Regions from separate parts of the Homo sapiens genome. Here region 1 is linked to region 2. Evidence: promoter capture Hi-C in 16 types of primary human blood cells and fetal thymus (Javierre and others, 2016). All regions are on one chromosome and are shown on one strand. The core of a region is centred on a gene start or on the middle of the fragment in contact, and the rest is flanking DNA. Distances in the headings are between cores, read along the strand shown.

Region 1 (4,754 bases), core at 1,153-3,652, 610 kb after region 2:
GCGGAGGAGGATCCCAGGTGTCCCCACTGGGCCCCACCTTGCTCTTTTCTGAGTCCTTCTGTCTGTGCCCTGTGGCTATTTCCAGGGAGGGCAGGAGGAGGCCACAGAGGCAAGCTTCTCTCCAGTCCTGGGCCTTCTTCAGTGGACTGGCCTCCATCACAGGCCCCGTTGCCTGAGGAATGAGGCCAAAATAATGGCAGATACAGGGCCTCTCAGAGGCTGAGCCAGGCCTGGCCCACTTCCATTTTTAGAGATTCTTGATCTATTAAAAAATGAAGAAATGCCGTAACAGGGTTAGGGAAATTGTGGTGTATTCAGTCTTATGATGACTGTCTTCTTTCCGTCCTGTCGCTGTGCCTCTGGCTGTGTGTCCTCAAGTGGAGACAATGTCAGATGTCCATATTGAGACCCCTTGTAACACTGAGACCCTACAGAACCTCTGCCCAGTCCTGTCCCTAGGCTCCCCGGGTGTGTGCCAGAGAACCCGGGGTTCAGGTGTCCTGTCTTGTGTCTTTTGAAAGTATGGAGCTTCAGTTCACAAAGTCCCCTTGCAGACATGATTGCCTGGGTTCTTCTGCAGCTCAGAGGGGAAGGCAAGGGGGTCATCCTTATTTTACAGCCAAGGAAGCCAGTCCAGCAAGGGAAGCGACTCACTTGCTGGCAGTCAGTGGCAAGGCCAAGCAGGAGCCCAGGCCCCTGAGTCCTTGGTGGTGAGGGGTGTAGGGGGTGAGGTCTCTCTGTCACACTGTGCTGCAAAGAAGCAGGTGGATCTTGACCCCATAAGCCAGGGTCTGGAGGGCTGCTCTTCTTTGCTGATTCGCTGCTAGGTCCCAAGCTTCATACCAGATGGAGAAGCTGGGAGAGATTGGGTTAATTCAAGCTGTGAAGTGAGCGGGTGATTTGGGTGCTAATTAAAATGACAGGAAGTAAACAGCACTTGGAAACACCCAGCATGTGCCCCCTAAGCCTGACTAGGCCTGCGCACTCACTGCTGTCTCCCCCAGCTTGGCTCAGTGGGCACCGTCTCCATGGCAACTGAGCTGAGCTGCAGAGATCAAAGCTGAAGATGGGTTAGCTCCAAACCAGCTGAACCAGGGGTCATGTGAAGGGGTTTCTGAAAAATGCCTGGAGAACGGGGGCCCCCAGGTGTCTTCCCCTTCCACCACCAGACCCTCCTCTCCTGGCTGCAAAACTCCCTGCCTAGGACTTGAAGCAGAGTTGGTGTGGTAGGAGAAACCACCTGTGGGCTGGGATTGGGCCTCCTGGGACCCACCCCTGGCCTAGGACTTTTTTCATCAGCTAACATTTATGGAGTGCTGGTTAGGGGCACGGATTCTGGAATCACAGTTCTGGGTGCAGCACTCTTCTCCTGTGCAATTGCTGTGTGACCCTGCCTAAGTCACTTAACCTCTCTGAGCCTCAATTTTATCATCTGAGACATGGAGATAATAATAGTAATGTTTCTTAGAGCTGTTGTGAAGAGGAAACAAGCCAATGAATGTGAAGTGTTTAGCATAATGCTTGCCACGTGGTAATTGCTATAAAGATGTCAGCTATTGTTAGGAGTGTGTATTACTAGGTACTAGATGTTGGGCATAGAGAGAAGAAATTTACATGGTCTCTGCTCTCAAGGAACTGGCTATTTAACTAGGGCGGAGTGAGGCAGAGGCGACATTGCCTGGTGTCACTGGAACAATGGTAGACTTCTGTGAGGCACAGCTGGCCTGAAGGATAAGGAGTGGGGCTCGGGAAGATGATGGCTGAGCTGGGTTTTGGGAGATGAGTAGAAATTCTGGGGCTGATGTGAACTTGCATTCTGGATGGAGACAGCTGTGCTGGGGTTTGGCCATGCTGGAACCTTGCAGGAAGGACCTGGAGCTGGGGTAGCCAGGGAGAGATCAAGAGAAGATGGAATTTCTTCTGTAGGTGACTGGGAACCCGTGAAAGGCTTTCAAAATATAATACTTATTATATTTTTTATTATTTTTAAAATTTATTTTATTTTTATTATTTATTTCTTTATTTTTTTGAGACGGAGTCTCACTCTGTCGCCCAGGCTGGAGTGCAGTGGCGTGATCTTGGCTCACTACAAGCTCTGCCTACCGGGTTCACGCCATTCTCCTGTCTCAGCCTCCCGAGTAGCTGGGACTACAGGCGCCCGCCATCACACACGGCTATTTTTGTATTTTTAGTAGAGATGGGGTTTTACCGTGTTATCCAGGGTGCTCGATCTCCTGACCTCGTGATCCGCCCGCCTTGGCCTCCCAAAGTGCTGGGATTACAGGTGTGAGCCACCGCGCCTGGCCTATTATTTATATTTATTATGATTATGATTATGTTTTTTCTCTTTATTACAAAGTAATATATGTTCATTGCAGAAATTTTGGGGAAAGTTGGAGAAAAGCAGAAAGATGTCAGAATTCTCTGTATTCCTACCCAGCAGTGGAAATGACTGTTACCATTTTGGTATAAATCCTTTTCACCTACTCACTTTCTTTTTCCCCAAAATGAGATCAAACTGTATATTCAGTTTCAAAGAGAGAGAGACCGGGTCAGAATTGTGTTTTGGAAGGATCCGGGTGGCCGCAGCCGTGTGGAAGACAGTGGGAGGAGGGAGACCCTCAGGAGGCGCTGCAGTTTTTCGGGTTGGGGTGGTCCTGGCCGGTGGGTGTAGGGCAGGGAGGGCAAGCGAGAGGGATTCGGGAGGGGAAGGGGCAGGACAGTCTTTGGGTTGGTGAGGGTGGCACGGTAAGCGTGCTCCAGGAACGGGCCTGGAATTGGAAGCAGGAGCCTGGGTTCTCCCAGGGCCGGCCTGCTCCTCAGCACACCTTGTATCGCTTTGTGTGAGGCACCCTCGGAGGGAGGAAGAATGGCTGTTCTTTTTCATCCCAGAGGCCCCGTGTTTGGGGTGAAGACACCCAAGAACATAAGCAAAATATTAGACATAAGCACAGAGCGGGAGGGACCTGAGGCCTGATGGCTGGCCCAGTGGTCTCTAAGCTGCCTGCCTAGAGCCAGCACAGAAGCGTGGCCCGAGCTGGGTACCACCCATGGGATTTCAGGGGTCTCAGGTAGCATGTGCGTGCTGGAAGGTTTAAAAAGCTCCTTGGGGAAGGGCACAGTGGCTCATGCCTGTAACCCCAGTGCTTTGGGGAGCTGAGGGAGGAGGATCACTTGAGCCCAGGAGTTCGAGATCAGCCTGGGCAGCATATCAAGACCCTATCTCTATGAAAAAAACCACCACAATAAAAATTAGACAGGCATGGTGGCACATGCCTGTGCTCCCAGGTACTTGGAAGGCTGAGGTGGGAGGATCGCTTGAGCCTGGGAGTTCGGGGCTACAGTGAGCTATGATTGCACCACTGCACTCCTGCCTGGGTGACAGAGCAAGACTCTGTCTCAATAAATAAATAAAAATAAAGAGCTCCTCGGCTGATTCTAAGGTGCAGTCACCACTGAGGTCCTCAACAACGAGGAAGTGACTTCTTTGAGGACACACCGTGGGCCAGGCTGAAAGTGGACTCCTGGTCCAGTGCCCCTTCTATGTCCTCTCTCTGCCTCCTCCTCCTCAGTGCAGATGCTGGTCCTCTCTTAAGGAGAGAGACTCTAACTTGTGGGGTGGGAGGGGGCGATGGGGAACCCTGACTCAGCTCCTCTTTTGTCTTGCCATCTCTGGCCAGTTGCTCTGCCTCTCTGAGCCTTCGTTTTCTCCTTTCTTCTGGTGTTGATCCTATTGGCTCTGACTACTTCACAGGACTGTGAGGATAAAAGGCAGACCCATCCAAATGCCTGGAGAGAACTTACTCTAAAAGCACCATGCAGGCTGGGTGCAGTGGCTCACGCCTATAATCTCAGCACTGTAGGAGTCTAAGGCAGGAGGACTGCCTGAGCCCAGGAGTTCAAGACCAGCCTGGGCAACATGGCAAGACCCCATCTCTATTAAAACATTTTTTTAAATTAAAAGCTTTACTCATATAGATAGGTAGATAGATAAGCATATATAAGCACCATGCAATACAAGCCACGAGCTCTTCCAAATCCCCATTTTCCAGGTGAGGTCGGCAGCAGAGCCACCTGCCACCACTCTCAGGTGTAGAACGGGGCCTCTGTTTCCTGAGAAGCCCCAGGTGCCCTGATCAGACTATTTCTCACAACTGCTAATGAGCCCACTGGGGTGCCATAAATAGACACCCAACACTGCACTGAAAGGCATTATTTGCACTTGCCAACAAACACCTTTTTTTCAGCTTAAAGGTGGCGCCAGCCCACACCTGGCCTCAGGGACCCCTCAGTGTGTCCTTGAGTTTTACCCTCAGAGTGGCCACTCCCCAGCTGCCCAGAGGACTTCCTCGTCATTCCTCCCCACAAGACCTCCTAGGGGACTCTCCTCGTATCCCTTCTGGTCTCTGCTGTCCCCATGGTGGCCTCTCCCTCTCCACTTTTTTGGGGTTCCTCATGTGGCATCTCTGTCCCTCATTTTCCGCACTTGCAGTCCGGGGGTCTCTTCTCCATCATAGCAGCTTTGATTTGTTAAGTGCTTCCTGGACCCCAGGCACCCCGCAGGTGCCATCTGCTTTAATCTCTGAGTAGTCCTGGGAGATAGGCACTGAGCCCCTCGAGGTCGGGTGCTTGCCCAAGGTGCACTGGTCGGGGGAAGCCTGGGGATCTGCAGGACCCCAGGGCCCTGCTCTCCTCGTCCCTCTCTGGCTGGCTGCCTTTGCTTTCCTGGGAGTGAGGGTCCTGGAATCCAGATC
Region 2 (4,817 bases), core at 499-2,998:
TATCAAAATATGGACTTAAGGACAACTTGGGAAGCCTTTAAGTAGTTCGACGGAAAGGGGAATGCAATCAAAATTTGGGGTGGCCTTATGTTTTTAAGAGAACAAAACACATAACTAGAGGCTATGAAACATGCAAATTAAATTGAACTGTGGAAAAGCTCTTGGCTGTCACCCAAAAGCTTCAGCAAAGCAATATGCCAGTATGCCAAATAAAAAGAGGTACAATCTTCTCACAAGAATGAGGATAGGGTCCATACCTATGACTAATAATAACAATACAACCTTGCTTTTGCAGAGCATTAGGTCTTTTCATAGATCTTTCAGGCACTCGATTTTGATGCTGTCATTGGCCTTAGGAGTATCCTCTCCGAAGAGCTCCAGTTCAGTTTCCTCTTAAGAGTTATGATCAGAACAAGGCAGGCGATGTGTTTATTGAGGGTTGAAGGTACTATTGTAGTTTCTCCTATCAAGCTGTTTGCAGTGATCCTCCAATAATCACACTATACAACTCAGCCCCAGCAAATAAAACCTACATTCTTTCCCTCAGAGCTGGCCAGAGACCAACACATATAGGTCTAGAAAGTCCAAGGGAAGGAAACCTCCTGACTTGTTAGGTTAAGAACTCCATGCCAAATTCATCTCTTGCAATTGAAAAAAGAAATCTCTCTCACACTCTGTCTCTCTCTCTCTCACACACACACACACACACACACACACTCACCCAAGAGTGTTCAAACAGAAATCCTCTTTTTCTGCCAGCCAATGAAACCCAGCAACAACTGGTTAATACAACCACCAAATCTCTGCCTCTGTCAACAACTTACCATATTCGCTTCTCCTGTGCCTGCTGACCACCCTTCCCGCTTCAGGCACGCGTGAACACGCTTATACAGTAGCCCTCGAAAGGACCCCCAAAAGCACCTTTAAGGACCCAAGAGGATGAAGCTTGCCTCCTGAAGCAATGCAGCATCCATCTCGAGGGAGCCGGTTCCCCATGCACACACACAGAGGAAGTCACAGAGGGGAATAAAGTTTGATTTTCCTTCCTGCCCGACCCCTCGGGGACGAGAGAGGACGAGGGGCGGCCCCGCCGGGGTCCTGGGCTGCTCTCCGGGGCAGCTCCCAGCAGCATGGCACTGCCACTCTCCTGGCACACACAAGGCGGCCGCGGCAACTCAGAACTCCCCAACCCGCCCGGAGGAGGAGGGAAAGGGGACAACTTCCATCTGGCTCCGTTCAGGGAGCCTTGGGGCAGGGCTGTTAAGAACGAAGAAGGGAGGGAACGCGATTGGGGGCGAGTCGGGGAGAGGTTCAAGTCCCGTGCCTTCCCCGCCCTGGTGTCCCCAGTCCTGCGGGAACATCCCCGCCGTCGCCCCTCCTCCTCCTCTCGGCTTCCTCCCGCCCGCCCTCCCTTCCTGGTCGCCGCCGCAGGCGCCTGAAGGGCACGGCGGCTCCTCGGTGCCCGGCAACCTCCGGAGCGGCCGGGAGTTGAGGTAACTCGCCTGCTGCCCCGGCGGCCTGCCCGCCGGCGGCTCCCACACGCCAGCGCCGCCCCGCCCTCCCCGGAGCCTCCGGGCGCGCTCGCTCACCGTCCGGTGGTGCTGCTGCTGCCGGTGGCGGCTGACGCCCAGCCCAGGGAAGCAGCCGGCAGTCAGCGCCCCGCAGCCGCCGGCGCCCCCGCCGCCGCCGCCCCGAGAGGAGAGGAGCAGCAGGAGCGATCTACCTGCGGCGGCCGCCATCTCTCAACTGGAAACGGCGCCGACCCAGGCAGCGCAGCGGACGGCCAGGGCGGAGCTAAGACCCGCCACTCACCGACGCCGGGCCAACTAAAGCCCTTGACTGAGTTGATGAGGCGGGGCTTCCTGCAAGGTCCAATCGACAGGCGGGAGAACCACACTGGAAGCTGCCAGTCCCTTCCAGAGTTACCTATAGTGGGACATAGTCAATTACGGGCAAATTCTAGGGAACCCATAATTGACACCCAAACCCGTGAAAATAACAGCAATAGAGATGGCATGTTCAGTTCGGCTAATCTTCACCAACAATAGAGCTATGATAAGAGTAACGGGGGATATAGATATTTGTGAAAAGCTTTGTTCGAAGTTGAGTTCTAAGTGAGTGTTCTAAGTTGGCAAAATAGGCACCAAATTAATAACCATTAACGGTGTATGCTGTAACTCTCAACTACACGCCTAGAATTATCATTCATAACTGATAATATTTAGATATGCTGAAATTAACTCTACATCACGGAGTGATCTAATGACTGTGATGCGTAGCATAATATAGGAGAGGTAGAACGATTACAATATCAAAGTCCCAGAATGAGTACATGCCTTCAGAGTGAATTAACTGACGTGTATACATCTCAAATACCCAATTCATTTTTACAGCACCTTTATACGGATATTCTCACACTCTCCAGAAACAGCACTATTTTATCATATTTGACTTTGTGTGCATTTACAGAAACAGAACACATTAATAACGTAATAAAAAATCATGTAAGGCCGGGCGCGGTGGCTCACGCCTGTAATCCCAGCACTTTGGGAGGCAGAGGCGGGCGGATCACGAGGTCAGGAGATCGAGACCATCCTGGCTAACACGGTGAAACCCCATCTGTACTAAAAATACAAAAAATTAGCCAGGCGTGGTGGCGGGCGCTTATAGTCCCAGCTATTCCGGAGGCTGAGGCAGGAGAATGGTGTGAACCCGGGAGACGGAGCTTGCAGTGAACCGAGATCGGGCCATTGCACTCCAGCCTGGGCGACACAGCAAGACTCCATCTCAAAAAAAAAAAAAAAAATTCATGTAAAAGGCTATTTTAATGATGCTTCATAATTTTGCCGAAATAGTTATCAGAATACGCTTTGGAATAACAAACACTTTCTCTTGAAAAACACTTCTTTCCACTTAAACTCACAATGAGGGCTCCTTGAATACTGCCTAAGAAAGATTTTGGGTCCTGAATTTCCTTAGAAGAGTATTTCCTTGCTAGCTGTTTATTATTATGAGCTGATTAAATTCTCACACCTCTTTTTAAAATCTGGAGCAGGAAAATAGTTTGGGAAGCAAATACAAGCATTATTTTAAATTTTGGAAAACATCTTTGTAGTGTAGCCTTAGATGATAAATTTAAAACAAAAACAAAACACACACATAAATACGAAGAAAATGTTATCACTTATTCTAAGAATATTCTTTAAAGTTTGACTGAAATGGTACCTTCTTGGCCAAGAATAGCTAAAAAATGACGTGGAAGTTTTTTGTTTGTTTAATCCTTATGCCCCACCTACACCAAAACAGTGAGATGATTGGCTTCTCCGGGGTAGATATCATGTCACTCACTCAAAAGGCTTTATTGCCCAACAGGTGGAACTTGAGACCTCAAGAATGAGCCCCCATTCAACAGCTGCACACAGTAATCCCCCTAGTTGGAAATCCATGACATTCCTGGAACAATTTCCCTTACAATTATTTTCCACCCATCTATATTTATCCCAACTGCATTTGATGTATTTACCCATGCTGTGCCATTTTCTCTCTCACCCCTTCATGCCTTCTTACAGAGATCACCATGGATTTTAGTTTTGTTTTTATTTTCTGTGCTGTCACCAGATCTAGCTATGAATCAGGATTGCTCCATTTCCACTTTCCACTTTAAGAAATTTTACTAGAATTGCCTTTACTCTATTTTTCCAAGCATGAAAATTAGATGTGCATCCTGCAGTGAGATTTACTCATATGCATTAGCAAAAGAACTAAGTAAATAATACTTTTAAGTGCACAAACATGAAATGGGCAGTATTAGCAAAAGTTTTCATCCTACCTATTTACCAAAATGTGTCATCTTTTATCTACTAAGATGAAACCACTGATGCACCAGAGAGAGATAGGCTGTATAAATCTGAGGATTCACTGACTATACTCAGTTCTGGGTGTTGATAATCCAAGGCCGGCAATTAATTTAAACAAATATCAATTATCTCCTCACAGAGAAAAACTTCTTCATAGCTGCAAAGGACATATCTCATATGAGCTGGTTGGCCAAGCCTGATAAGGAGAAAGTGTAGATAGCTCAACAGAAAGTTCTTCTCAAACCTAAAAAAAAGTATGTGTGTGTGTGCCTGTATATACACACACATTATATAGAGAGAGAAGGAAAGGGAATTAACATACCTGCTATGTGCCAGAGATTGTGCTGATCACTCCAGAGATACTACATTTAAAAAGGAGGGCAAGACAACCACAGAAAACTTTTAAAAATTGTAACTTTCATGAGAAAGAAGTTGAAGAAAACCTCAATGTCTTCCAATAGGGAAATGGTTAAATACATTAGACACTAACTTTGTAACAGAAAATTATTCAACCATTAAAAAATTGAGGGCCAAGCACAGTGGCTCATATCTGTAATCCCAGCTCTTTGAGAGACTGAGGCAGGAGGATCATTTGAGACCACATATTTGAGACTTGCCTGGGCAACACAGCGAGACCCTATCTCTAAAAATATATATTTTTTAATTAGTTGGGTGTGGTGGTGCACGCCTGTAGTCCCAGCTACTCAGGAGGCTGAGGCAGGAGGCTTGCTTGGGCCCAGGAAATTTGAGGTTATGGTGAGCTATGATCATGGCACTGCACTCTAGCCTGGGTGAGAGAGCGAGACTCTCTCTCTTAAAAAAAAATTATTCTATCTATACTTTTTTATTATATAATATATATATTTTTATTTATATATGTGTATATATATATTTTTTTGAGACGAAGTCTCACTCTATCGCCCAGGCTGGAGGGCAGTGGCACGATTTTGGCTCACTGCA

The links. The method cuts DNA at HindIII sites, captures the fragments that hold promoters and counts their contacts. A CHiCAGO score of 5 or more calls a contact.
Region 1: a contact is called between a fragment that was not itself captured here and the fragment with the promoter of MCU in region 2, in 1 of 17 cell types (fetal thymus). The highest score is 5.5, in fetal thymus.

What each region holds. Positions count from the first base shown.
Region 1 is chr10:72,075,786-72,080,539 of GRCh38, reverse strand. The region is part of intron 1 of SPOCK2 (SPARC (osteonectin), cwcv and kazal like domains proteoglycan 2); the gene reads left to right. Among named protein-coding and RNA genes, the nearest start is that of SPOCK2, 10 kb to the left of the region's middle. The HindIII fragment of the contact is 3,129 bases long and covers 838-3,966 here.
Region 2 is chr10:72,689,074-72,693,890 of GRCh38, reverse strand. It overlaps MCU (mitochondrial calcium uniporter), which reads right to left and starts at 1,748. Exons shown (of 8, transcript NM_138357.3): 1 at 1,590-1,748. The coding sequence starts at 1,739. RefSeq lists enhancers at 311-400, 2,071-2,130 and silencers at 1,161-1,250, 1,271-1,320, 1,411-1,870. The HindIII fragment of the contact is 1,146 bases long and covers 948-2,093 here.